Linked DNA regions of Homo sapiens: region 2 is linked to region 1. The links are contacts of gene promoters, found by promoter capture Hi-C in human tissues and cell types (Jung and others, 2019). All regions are on one chromosome and are shown on one strand. Each heading gives the region's core, a stretch centred on a gene start or on the middle of the fragment in contact. The rest is flanking DNA. Distances are from core to core; before and after follow the strand shown.

Evidence for each region. The method cuts DNA at HindIII sites, captures the fragments that hold promoters and counts their contacts. A contact is called where the count stands out against the background at its distance.
Region 2: a contact is called between a fragment that was not itself captured here and the fragment with the promoter of HELT in region 1, in 2 of the 25 tissues and cell types used here (H1 embryonic stem cells and pancreas).

Annotation. Positions count from the first base shown.
Region 1 is chr4:185,014,752-185,021,421 of GRCh38, reverse strand. It overlaps HELT (helt bHLH transcription factor), which reads right to left and starts at 2,932. Exons shown (of 4, transcript NM_001300781.2): 1 at 2,467-2,932; 2 at 1,931-2,035; 3 at 1,579-1,675; 4 at 469-1,149. The coding sequence starts at 2,493. The coding sequence ends at 650. RefSeq lists enhancers at 1-300, 301-1,228, 1,943-2,522, 2,523-3,101, 3,102-3,682. The HindIII fragment of the contact is 22,587 bases long and covers 1-6,670 here.
Region 2 is chr4:185,099,869-185,106,409 of GRCh38, reverse strand. The region is part of intron 5 of LINC02436 (long intergenic non-protein coding RNA 2436); the gene reads right to left. Among named protein-coding and RNA genes, the nearest start is that of SLC25A4, 40 kb to the left of the region's middle. The HindIII fragment of the contact is 6,305 bases long and covers 1-5,181 here.

The DNA.
Region 1 (6,670 bases), core at 1,683-4,182:
TATTTTTTAGAGGATTTTTAATTCTGTAAACTCAGCCACGCGCCCCGCTGGCCCGGGTTTCGCCGCATTCCAGACCCGCGGGCGTGCGGTGCGCGCGCGTCGGGCACTTGGCTCCGGGTAGGACGGGCGCCCGGGTCGCAGCTGGCAACGGTCCGCCTAAGTCAGTTTGGGGCAGGTCCTTCAATTTGCATTTTCCTGAGAGCCAAGGGCAGTGTTCTTCGCCTCCCCTGTTTCTCTGAGGCTAATGCTCAAGATGGGGCGGGTGCAGGAAGCCGCGAATCCCGCCCTTAAGCGATGCCTAGAATATCTGCCTGAACCTCCATTTAACGTCCCCCTCCCTCAGACTCCACAGCGGGCCCCTCACCAAGTTACTGAGGGCTGTTACCTTGAACCCTGTCAGCCTTGCGCCCTGGGCACCGCGGAGGGGACGGGTGTGGATGAGCAGAAGGTAATACATAAATCCCTCTCTTTGGGTCTTTATCAGAAAACGTTTATTACCAGGGGGAGATCCTTCAGAAGACTCATTCGCTCTTTGCCTCCCCCAGCCCAGATTTTTGGGGTACAATATTTACACATTATGTGTACAATATATACAGCATTTCTCCTAAAAGCGCCCAAAGCGAGGAGAAATCTGGCGGGCGAGTGGGCGTCAGAGCACCGGGGGGTGCTGGGGCGTGTGCAGGTTAAGGGCGTTGGGGTGCGCGTGGCCGATCAGGTTGAGGTAATGCCGGTCCAGGCCCTGCACCGGTGTCAGGAAGGGGCTGTGCTGCTGCGCTGGGCTAGCGAGCGGCACTGGCGCGCTGGGCAGGTAGGGCAGCGCGGGGCTGCGGGCCGCGCCAGGCGGCCAGGGGAAAGGCCCGGCACCAGAGCCCTGCGGGAACACAGCGGCCTCGCCCGGGCTGTGACCAGCGAATTCGGGCCCCGCAGGGTGCAGCTGATAGGAGAAATCCGGCTCCGGGAGCGAACCCAGCGGCGGAAAGGCGGGCTCCGCGCCCAGGCGGGCCTTGGACTGCAAGAAGGCGAGGATGCGCGCGTACTTCGTGTCCTTGGTCTCCATCCGCTCCACCGTGGTGAGGTAATGCACCAGGTTCTTCATGCACTCGTGGTAGCCATAGTGGAAGTAGTTGGCAAACTCCGCTAGAAGTTCTGCTGGAGGAACGAGAAAGCCCGTAGGACGGACACACCCTGAGTGCCCCTTCCCCACGCGAGCCCAAAGCGGGTGCAGGGCACCTCCCACCACATTTTCTGGCCAAAGTTCCCATTTGAGGCCCGCCCTCTCCTCTGCGCAGTCTTAGAGACTGGCGAGGCACGCGCAAACGCCCTCTTTCCCTGAGAGCCTGACCCCACCCACCCCACCCGGGAGAAGGAGGTGGAACCAGCCTCCCTGGGAACCAGTTCTCCCTCGCCGCCTTGCTGTCGCCGAGCAGGGAGAGGCGCCTTCGCAGGACCCCTGCCCTCCTGGAGAGTGGAGCTCTAGTAGAGCTCTCGGGAACACTCAGTCACTCCCCTCCCAGCCCCAGGGTCTCTGGGTGGCGCAGGCGCCTGGCCCAGGCGTCCCATTCCCTAACCTGTGCCCACCTTTTTCCCTTCCCCGGGGAAAATCAGCGGAGTGCAGTGCTCTCAGGTACTGAACGGTCATCTCGAGGATCTCCGCCTTCTCCAGCTTCCCGGAACTCTGCAAAAGGAGGAAGGGCCCCTCGCAGCGGCCCAGCGCCTGCTGGTCGGGCACTGTGGCGCTGGAGAGGACCAGCGAGCGGACGCGGCTGCGGATCTGCGCCAGAGCCTCCTGAGGTTCGCCCTGCGCTCAGGCCCCCCGCCTGGGAGGGGCCCGCAAGTGAGGTCCTCTGTGTCCGCGGGCTCGGGCGTCTCCGCAGAGTGGCCGCAGAGGCCTCCCAACGCCTGGCACCCGGCTCCGGGTCGCCAACGTTACCTGCTTCGCCAAGGCCATGGGCACTGTCTTGCCCAGCTCGTTCAAGCAGCGGTTGATCCTGTCCCTCCTCCGCTTTTCTATCACTTTATGAGAAACGGGGGTTCTCTGCGAAGAGAGGGTTGTATGTTTAGGATGGCTTTGCCCGGGAAGTCGTCAAAGGCGCGGCTCTAGCAGCTGGGTGCAAGCCGCCTCTCCAGCCGCGCACACTGCTCAGATTCGCTCTAGGAAGGGACTCCTGGCCCGCCACGCTCGGGCCAGGTGAGCTCTGCCTTCTGACGCCCGCGCTGGCGCGCTCCCCTTCCAGCCACCCTACCCAGGCCTTTGGGGAGGTGGCCGCCAGCCTCCAGGCAGGACTTCTACCTGGTTGAGCACCCTCCTCTCTCTACCCCACCCCCTTCCCAAACCACTCGAGATTCCTCCACACTCAAAGTCCCGTGCGGGCACTTCCCTGCCATCGGTCCACCCAAGTGGCGGGTCGGTGAGTCAGATGCCTCCACCACCAGGGCGCAAGTGCCATTTGGGCTCAGCCGACTCACTTTGCGTTCCTTGAGCTTGTCTGACATCCTGGTCAGTACGCGCCCTCGGGAGAGGCGGTGGCGCGGGGCACCCGTCCACTTTTCCGCCTCGTGTGCCTCCTCGAGTGTCCCAGGTAGACTGCAGCCTCCCAACTCCGAGGGCTGCCTTATAAAGCGGTCATCTAGGGCTCCAGATGCATTCACGAGTTGAATTATTCCATAGGATTAGGGGAGCTGCGTTTGGAGGATGTATGCATTCAAGATCAGTTTTAAAGAAGTTAAGAAAAAAAAAAAATTAGCAGCCGAGGGGGGCGAGCTGGGGGCAGATCAGCTTTGTTAATCCACGTGGCCCTTCAAAGGACACGTGATCGGCCCAGGAATAACATTTGCATGGCAACAGCTCGGGCGGGAAAAGGAGGCGGTAAACTGGGGCCGGCGGGCGAGCAAGCGCCTGCAGCAGTCGCGGGCGCGGAGCGCAGGGGCGCAGCGGCCGCGGGCACCGGGGGGCGAGGACCCTCACAAAACAGTGTCGCCTCTTTTAGTCCCACCGCTGAGTCTCACATGATCGCCTGTTTACAAATCCCAGCAAGCCCGCCGTCCCAGCGCCGAGTGCGTTTTAAAGCCTGTCCAGAGTCATTAAAGTAATTAAGTAAGCCTTTAATAGGCTGTTCCGCCGGGTTCAAGGGAGAGCTCTTGGAGACGGAGGCGCCCCGTTTGTTCCCAGGCTTTTCTCACACGACTTGGTGACACGTCCTTCTCCCCCCTTTTTGTTTACACCGCTTTATTTGTCCGGACATCCCGGCAGGTGTGGGGCTGCGGCTGGCACACGAGGCTCCCGCCTCGCCTCGCCTCGCCCCTCCCGCCGCTGTTTGGCACGCGACGCTCCCCCCTACTCCCTGACCACGTCGCTGGCTTTCTTTTCTCCCCACCCCTCCTGCTCCCTCTTCGCGGGGGGAAGAGGCTCAATTTGTAGCCTATTATCCTATACGAAAATGTCCATTGAAAAGTATGAATAGTTTCATTGGGCTAAATTTTAATAATGCCAGAGGGTGGGGGAGGAGAGACTGGCGGGCGTGTGTGTGTGTTTGTGTGTGAAGGGGCGGGTGGGAGGATTGGGGGGCAACACGGAGAAGAGTGGGCCGAGAAGAAAAGGGGGAATGCAGCTGGCCCAGGCAAGCATTATGCAACGTCACCTGCGAGAGGGGGCGCCTACAGACCCCTATTCATTTGCCTAATTTTGGTCAATTTAACAAACTTCAGGAGAAATTATTGTGGCTTTGTCAGGGAGGGTGAAGCCTTCTGATCGAATTAACAGCATGTTTTGATCCGGTAAATGTCATTAGAAAGGGAGAAACAATCGCGCTTAGAGGGCTCTGAGTAATGCGCCCAAGTGGAGACGCCAAAGCGCACGGCTCACAAAGGGAGCAAGTAGCTGCCACAGGGAACTTTTGTACCCGCCCATCGCCCAAGTTTTGACACAAAAAGGCATTATTTCATACTTGAATACGTTTAATCCAACGATTGTCTATTTTCTGCAAACATATTTTCACAGCATTGTTAACTTTTTATGTCTCCCTTTCGCTGGCGTCTTTTCTTAACGTTTGGGGGCGGGAGAGCGCAGACACTTTGGGCATCAATATTTGTCACTGAAAAGGGCCCTGTGAAGTTTGGGAAGTTGATCTCTTTTTTATGGTTTTAGAAAGCGAAAATATCGGGGGGAGGAGGAGGGAGGGAAGGCACGAACAGAAACGAGGGAGGAAATTTGCTGGACGGGCCCAAGGGGAAGGAGGGGGGCGGCGGCGGCTGGGAACTCTCTTGGCCGCCTGCGCCTCTGAGGGCAACCTGGCCCCGCGGCCAGAGGCCACCTCCCCCAGGACGGGCCTCGCTCACACTTGCTGCCTCGGATCCTATACTCTGGGGGCTCTGAGCTTGTGGGGTGTGGGTGGGGGGTGAGCTTTCTTGCAGATTGAAACGATAAAAATGATTTTTGTTTTATGGCCCTTTCTAGAGCCACCGAACTCTCACCTCTCTAATCTTTTCCATCTGGGAACAGCTGAGACCGCTTCTCAGATTTTTCTTCTTTTCTGCCTGCCCCTAACCCTGCCTAAATTCTCTCTGTTCTGCAGGGAGATGGCAGGGCCCAGCGCCCCCCTTGGGGTCGTTAGACCTTGGCAGGGGTGGGTAGGCGGCGCTCTTCTAGCTGGTGGGACCTGGGAGCCTCAGGGCGCAGAGCCAGGCCTGGGGTGCCAGGCCTCGGGGAAGCCATCGGCCCACCTGCTGCGGCCTGGGAGATGTGAGGGCTCGGTCTGCACCTCGCACCCCTAGGGTGTCCCTCTCGGTCCTGCCTCTAGTCTCCTCACGATGTTTCCTTTCTGCTTCACGCCAGATTGGACACGATCCGCACCCTCCCAGGTTGCTCTGCCAGCCGCGAGTGCCCTCTCAGGGGTTGTCGATTTCAGGATATTCACTCGCACACAAAGAGATTAAACGCGAACCCTTATCATCCAAATTAACTAACGTGAATGGGTAAAAAGGAGCGCGCACACTTCGCACTCCCACTCCCATTTTTAAGCCAGCGGCCCGGGCGTTGATCCTCTTACTGCCGGTGTTAACCGCCAGCTGCAGGCACCTTCCACGGACCACATTTCATTCCATGCACACTGTTTAATTTCCCGGGTTTGGTCTCGGCGCTTGGCTCAAGGCTTGCCCAGGGCTAAAAGTACCCGCGTGCAGGTGAGGGGGCAAGGGAAGGCCGGTGAGTGGAGACTTGGGCTCAGGGGCGCAGCCTCGCCCGGTCCTTGCGCGGCTGCAGCACTACCTGCGAAACCTGGAACGCCCTCCGCTTCAGGATAGGGAAGGACGTATTTCCTTTCTCCCTTCTCGGTCCGAAGGCCTGGGTCACACACGCTGCCCCAGAGTGGGGCGCCTCAGGGCTGTCTTCTCTTTGCTTCTCCTCAGGGTGAAGATCAGGAGTTCCCTGATCCTGGCCTAGTTTCCACGCAACATAAGAGCAGAGTAGGGAAGAGCCGAGGTTCGCCGGAGCCAGCCAGCCTGTTCAGATCCCAGCCCTACCGCCCACCAGCTGGGTGAGACTCGAGGCATCGTCCTGAATCTACTGTCCCTCAGTTTCCTCATCTGTAAAATGGAAATAATGTTTCTACTATGTTACCGGGTGGTCACTCCAGTGAAATAAGTAAATACAGACGAGGCACCTAAAAGAAGACTGGATCGTGCAGTTAGTGGTTTTACTTTGCCTGCAAATCTCTCCTACGGTGGCTCTTCTGTGTTTTACAGGGTAGTGTGGAGTTTGCACTGTTAGATGATTTTTCCACTCATTTCATTTTTTGCCCTCATCCCAGAGAAAGCTCTAGCCTCCCTGAAAAAGCCACAGTAATTCCTCCTGAAGTTTGTTTAATTGACCAAAATCAGGCAAATGAATGGGGGCCTTCAGGCACCCAGGTGACATCACATAGTGCTACTGGCCAGCTGTGTAGTCCCAGTGTGTGTGTGAGGCTGAAAGGGACTCTAAGCACAGGACCCCTCAGCATCATAGCCGTTCTCAAGGGACGCAAATATTAGCATCAAAATCAAAAGAAAGCTAGGAAGCAAGACTGCCTGGAAATTAGACAGTGCTTATTAAATATTGCTCTGCGTTCAGCCTCCTGGCAGCTAAAGACCTCTACTGGAGAACACAGCAATCACAAGCCGACCATGTTTATTATCGTTATTTTTAATACTATTTCTTTGGCTCCATAAGTTTGACAAGCAGATTGCAAACACAGAAGGATGGCTTATTATGTGTTTGCTTCCAGTTTTTAGAAATTGAGGATTTGTGGGCTTGGGGGCAGGGGATGGATGGAAAGAAAAGAATACAGTAACTTTAGACAAATTGCACTAAGACAAAGAATTCCAGGTAATTTCAAATCCCTCCCTCCACCCCTGCCTCCAATACACAAGTTGACTTTCTAGACACATTAACAGGACTGGAGATTTCATCAAATGTGAGGAGCCCTGGCTGAGAGCGGGAGAACACCAGCATGGCTGGCCCTACTGACTTCTGAGGTGCTGGGAAGATGAGGCCTGGAGGGAGCCCAACTCCTGGGCTCTGTTATGAAGTGAGCAGGATCTCAGGCTGCTCCTTCTGGAAAGGCCCATGAGAGCATGGCTCCAGCACCCCACTTCACGCTCGAGGGCCCTGAGGAACCACGAGGAGACTGGGATGCCC
Region 2 (6,541 bases), core at 780-3,279, 86 kb before region 1:
TTCAGTCTTGTCTTAGTATCTGTACTGGTTTTGAATCATGAGGAGAAAACTCTGGAGATTTCCAGCCCGCAGTGATTTAGGCTAGCTTGACAGGATAGTCCAACATGGATGGATTATCTTTCTTTCTTCCAATAGATAGAACGAGGAAAGGAAATTGCAAGCCTCAACTGAGACTAGGCCCCGTGATATATAGTGTATTTACCTTGGTTTATGTGAAATAATGGCTAAAACCTGCTTGGGGAGGATCTTTTGCTTGATGTTTTCGGTTTTGTTTATGACTGGAAGATAGGAATCCTTTCCTATCTAAATGTGAGGTTGCAGCACATTTTGGCAATTTTTCTAACATAAACACATTTTGTATGTTAAGATTTGAAGGAGAATAGACTCCCAAATGTTTTATTGTGCATTGCCCATAGAGTACTCTAAAATGCAGTGAAAATAATTTTAGAAATTTTGATTAAATGATAGATTGCTTCACATTTTATATTACTGTATGACTTTATAAGCTTATGTTACTGATATGAAACTTAGTGAATATATGTACAAATAAATAATTGCAATTCTTTGAAATGTAGGCAAAAATTATCACATCATTACGACACTTTGTTCTGTAGGGTTGCAAGAAAAGAAATAATATCCTTTGGACAAAAAAGTACCCCAAGCCAGGTGTGGTGGGGTGTGCCTGTAGTCCAAGCTACTCGGGAGGCTGAGACGGGAAGATCACTTGAAGTCAGGTGTTCAAAGCTGCAGTGAGCCACGATCACACCACTGGACTCCAGCCTGGGTAACAGAGTGAGACCTCATCTCAAAAACAAACAAAAAGTATCTCAATTTATAAAAGCATCTCAATTTGTTGCAGAATATCCACACAAATGAGGAGTATGTTTAAATTTATGTAAATTAGTTTAAGGGAATGCACATTGTAACATTTGTTAAATACTGTCCTGTAACTATTGCTGTTGATTGGATACTCAGCAAAGTGACACTGTTAGACAGGACTAGTGCTTTCCACAGTCCCTCAACAGGTGCTGTAGTTTCAAAATTACCCAAACGTTCTTCTCCATTGGGCAGAAATTATTTTCTGTGTATAACTTTTGGTAACGTAGATGGTCAGAGGTTCCATGTTTCTCAGTGTGGTGGTCACCAGGTGGATTTCATACTACAGCAGGTCCCTGTTTTCTCAACTGCTCTCTTTCCAGAGCTAAAAGCTGACGTGAATCTTGCTCACAACATGTAGAGTGGAAACCCGCTCAAGCACATTCAGTAAAAAGTCAACCAGCCAAGTGAAAGTGGATGAGCAAGAGGGCAGAGGTGAATGACTGAGGGTCTACTAAGAAGTGTTCCCCAGAGACAAATTAACTATCAAGTATTTCTGATGGACTCCCCCAAAGGAGTAAGGAAACTTTGCCAGTATTTACTTTCAATCTGTCAATTTTAGACTATAAGTTATTTCAACATAATTTACTTTGGCAGTTATATCATGTGTGTTTACTTATGTGCCAGAGTTCTGCAGGCAAAAGAATGGCCCAATTCAAGTGACAGCTTTTTAGCTTTAAGATGTTTTCAACAAAATGCTAATACTTTTACCTCTCAGAATAAATAACTCAGTTCCCTCCTTTTGAGGAGACTCAGAATTAGAAAACATTCTGGCTAAATAAAATTGGATCTAGGTCAGCTCTTTCATTTGACAGAGGAGGAAACTGAGGCACAGAGAGGCGAAGTGACTTTTTCCTAAATCTCATGGTTAATTATTGGCAGAACCTGGACCAGAACTCAAGTTTCTTGATTCTCAGTTCATTGCTCTTCTCCACTTAAAATCTGTTTTCCTCAAACATGGCTTTTTACTTCATCATATAAACATTTTCTCAGTTCTACATCTCAGCTCACCCTCACGGGTCCATCCTTTTCTGGTTCCTTTCTACATGCCACCTTTCTGGCAAGCTCTTTCTGGAGTGCAGTGGCATGATCTCAGCTCGCTGAGACCTCTGTCTCGTGGGTTCAAATGATTCTCCTGCCTCAGCCTCCCTAGTAGCTGATATTACAAGTGTGCGCAACCACACCTGGCTAATTTTTGTATTTTTAGTAGAGACGGGGTTTCGACCATGTTGGCCAGGCTGGTCTCGAATTCCTGACCTCAAGTGATCCACCCACCTCTGCCTCCCAAAGTGCTGGGATTACAGGCGTGAACCACCACACCAGCCCCTAGCAAGCTCTTTCTGAAGAGCAGGCTGCTCCTCCCACTCTCTCACTGCCGCTCAGTCCAGTGGCTTGGCTTCTTTGCCCTTGAACTTGCTCTCTCCAAGGTGTCCAGTGACAATGTCCACCCTCCAGTCCTTAGTTTATTTGACTTCTCTGCAACATTAAACTCTACTGTCCACTCACTCCTTCCTAAAACCACGCATTTTTTTCTTCTTGGCTTCTATGATACAATCTCCTGGTTTTCTTCTCTCTCTGGCTTCTCCTTCACGGATTCCTTGATGGGGTCTAGTTTCTCACATCTTAAATGCTTGTATGGCCCAGTTACTCTTCTCATGTATATGTTCTTAGACGTGCTGTCGGGCACATCATGGCTCCAACATCACCTCTGTGAGGATGACTCTCATGCCCACATATCTGGCTCAGACCTCCCTCTATCTCTCCCCGCCCCCACCTTTTTTTTTTTTTTTTTTTTTGAGACAGGGTCTCACTGTTACCCAGGCTACAGTGCAGTGGCACAATCAATCACACAACTCACTGCAGTCTCAAACTCCTGCGATCACGCAATCCTCCCACCTCAGCCTCCCAAGTAGCTGGAACTACAGGTGCACACACCATGCCTGGCTAATTTTTTATGTTTTTGTTTTTTGTAGAGTTGAGATCTCCCTATGTTTCCCAGGCTGGTCTCCAACTCCTGGCCTCCAGCAATTCTCCCACCTGGGCCTCCCAAAGCACTAGGTTTACAGATGTGAGCCACCATGCCCAGCCTCAGACATTTCTTTTGAGTTTCAGCCACATATATCTACTATAAACTTCATCTCAAATTCACCACATTCAAAACCTGTGCCACTTCCTCTACCTTCTGTATCTTAGTGTCTGTACAAATCAGAAAACAAAGTAACCTAGACTCCCATTCTCCCTCAACTCACACTTAACAAGCCACCAAGTAGTACAGAATCTATTGCTTTATCATCTCTCCTGTCTTCTCCCTCGTCTCTACCTTGAGCAGACACTGTTTTGTCTTGCCTGGACTACAGCAGTAGCTTCTTAGCTGCCCTTTCTGCCTCCAGTCTGCCCACCCCTACATATTGCTGGACCCTCAAATACTGCTGGATGTATGACCCTTCTATTTATTTATTTTTTTGAGACAAAGTCTCACTCTGTCACCCAGGCTGGAGTGCAGTGGCGTGATCTTGGCTCACTGCATCCTCCATCTCCTGGCTTCAAGCGATTCTCCTGCCTCAGCCTCCCAAGTAGCTGGGATTACAGGTGTGCACCACCAGGTCCAGCTAATTATTTTTGTTTTTTTTTTTTTGAGACAGAGTCTCGCTCTGTTGCCCAGGCTGGATATTTTTGTATTTTTAGTAGAGACGGGTTTCACCATGTTGGCCAGGCTGGTCTTGAACTCCTGACCTCAGGTGATCCACCTGCCTCGGCCTCCCAAAGTGCTGGGATTACAGGCATGAGCCACAGTGCCCAGCCTGTATGACCCTTCGAAACTGCAAATATGATTAGAACCCTTTGGCATGCATGCCAGGTCTTGCATTCTCTGGGTATGGCCTTCCTCTCCAGCCTCGTCTCCCTTCACCCCCGCACATCCACCTTCCATCTCAGCCTCTCCAAACCACATACAAGCTCTAAGATGCACTGTGCTGTTTCTTGCCTCCAGTTCCCTTCATGTGCTGTTCTTGAAATGCTCCTCCCTTTTTTCTCATTCACTCACACTCATCCTTTAAGTTCAGTCTAAGTGTCGCCTCCTCAGAGAGCCTTCTTGCATTCTTCCATCTGACCTAGATGCCTCCTCTCCTCCCTGACTCTCTCACAGCACCCACTCCATACCCTATTATAATTGTTTCTAAACTGTAAACTCTCAAAGACCGAGTGTATTTTCAGCCTGGTGTATTAATATCGCATTTACAGATTTTACTTGAGTTTTTCCAGTAATGTAGCATATGCATTACAGCACAAGGTGATTATGTGCCCCCAACTTTCTCTGCTTTCCGGAGCTCCCAGGTGAGGGGTCTGGAGGCATGCGCAAGACCATCTACTGCTCAGAGCCGGGAGTTGCAGGTGCCACCTCCTTCCCCTAACCATGCCCCCTGACCTCTCCCTACTCTTGCGAGTGAGCCTCATGGCCAGGCTGCTGCGGAGCCAGGAAATGGGATGTCTGGATGCCCTGCTGCTGGACTGCCACAGCTTCCCAGGCCATCTTCTTGGCCCCTCCCTACCCCCACCCCAATAAGACTGGGTGAGAGGGGAGGTGTTGATGCTCGTTCTGCTGACTGGCCCCTTTGTGGGGAGATGGCTGGCCCCAAGACAAGAGATGGTGGTTCTCTAAGCATAGAAGGTGGGAAACTCAGCATCTTTTCTTTTCTCAGTCAATTCCAGAAGTAACGGTAATAGCCAAATTCTTCTTGTGGGCCAAGAGCAATTTTGAGGGCTTTACATTTAATCCTTGTGGTAACCCTATGACGAATGAATTAACTTTATTATTCTCAAGTGACATATGACGAAATTGAGTGAAAGAATGGTTAAGTAACTTAACAAAGTCATGAGCTAGTAAGTGGCAGCGCAGATTCAAACCAAAGCAGGCTGGTGCCAGAGCCCTTCTGTGTGCCCCCGGGGCTCCACTGCCTGTCTCCTCAACCAGATGTTACAGGGAGGTTCACTGACACCCACGGCGATGGTCCAGAGCACTGCTTGGCAGCCAGGCGTTCCTCCCTGCGCCTCAGTGACCTCATGGGATCATGGTGCTTCTCTTTGCCCCTCATTTAATTTTACCTGCTGGATGTGGTTTTCAAGTTACAACATCTCTTGGTTGGCCCCCCATGGGTTTTTAAAAATATTTCTCTTAGAGTTTAATTATTAGTCATCTGCCCACTATTTATTTGTACTTTTCATGACATTTACTTTCATATGCTTTTACTGCTTTTTTTAATTGATAAAGTAATATGCACTCATGATAAGCTATGCCAATTGCAAAAAGTGGACAGTACGTAGAACAAAGGTATACCTTTTGTTCACAACTTAAATGTGGTAATAAAATGTATGCTTTTTCTGTGACTAATCTAGCCTTGTTTCTAACTCCATCCTCACCTTACCTCTCTGCCACCCCCACCCACAGACTAGCGGCAAAAAATTAAAAAATAATAATAACTCGTGGCTCACACCTGTAATCCCAGCACTTTGGGAGGCCGAGGCAGGCGGATCACGGGGTCTGGCTAACACGGTGAAACCCCGTCTCTATAAAAATACAAAAAATTAGCCAGGCACGGGGGCGGGCGCCTGCAGTCCCAGCTACTCAGGAGGCTGAGGCAGGAGAACGGCGTGAACCCAGGAGTTGGAGCTTGCAGTGAACCAAGATCGAGCCACTGCACTCCAGCCTGGGAGACAGAGCCAGACTCCGTCTCAAAAAATAAATAAATAAATAAATAAATAATAATAACAACTCAGTGTCTGATCTTGGTTAAATCTCAGTCTGCCTGGTAGTTTCAGCTGTGCTTTAGTGGGGAGGGGGGGTTCGGCCTGTCTTGGAGGAAAGGGTCAATCTCCCAGAGAGCTTGTCCTTCACCCTGCTCCTCTCAATGAGGAGAGGCAGGGACGCGGTGCAGCTGTATGGCCTGGAAGCCAACATTCTCGCATCTACTGGGTGTCTGTCTGCTATTCCCTGGCTTCCCCGGCCCCTGGGCAATGCTCTCTAGCCATCAAGGACACCCTGAAGACCCCTGGTGCTGAAGTTGAGTGTGGAGGTCGGGGTCTTGTGTGGGGACAATGCTCCTGGTGGGTCTTCCTGGCTGCCCTGACCTCAGCCAGACTCCTGACAGCCCTGCCACCCTTCTGGGTCTGGGGAAGCCTCCATTCAACCCTACTCAGGTGGTCTTTCTGCAGCCCTCCACAGAGCCAGTTTGCCCTGGCCACAGCAACTGCCCCTGGTCAGCTTCCCAGCCAGGGCTAGTCAGCACAGGGACCCAAGAGCAGCTCAGGAAAGCTAGGCGTGGGTGCTTCTTCCTCTTCATCACAATGCACAACTAAAGCGTGTCTCACCGTGGCTGTGCTGGGTTGGAATGGGACACCCACGAGGCAGTCCTCCCCAGAGCCCCACGAGGCAGTCCTCCCCAGAGCCCCACGAGGCTGTCCTCCCCAGAGCCCCACGAGGCTGTCCTCCCCAGAGCCCCAGGCAGAGCGCTTTGGGAGGGTGCAGCTTCTCTCTCTGCCCTTACTGTTGCTTGCACTTACTTTCTTCACCATCCCTCCTGGATGTATTTAAAAACAAAACAAAGCATGGCCTGTCACTGACTAGAGTGTTATTTTCTTTACTGTGCGAGAGAATCCAACATGTATGAGT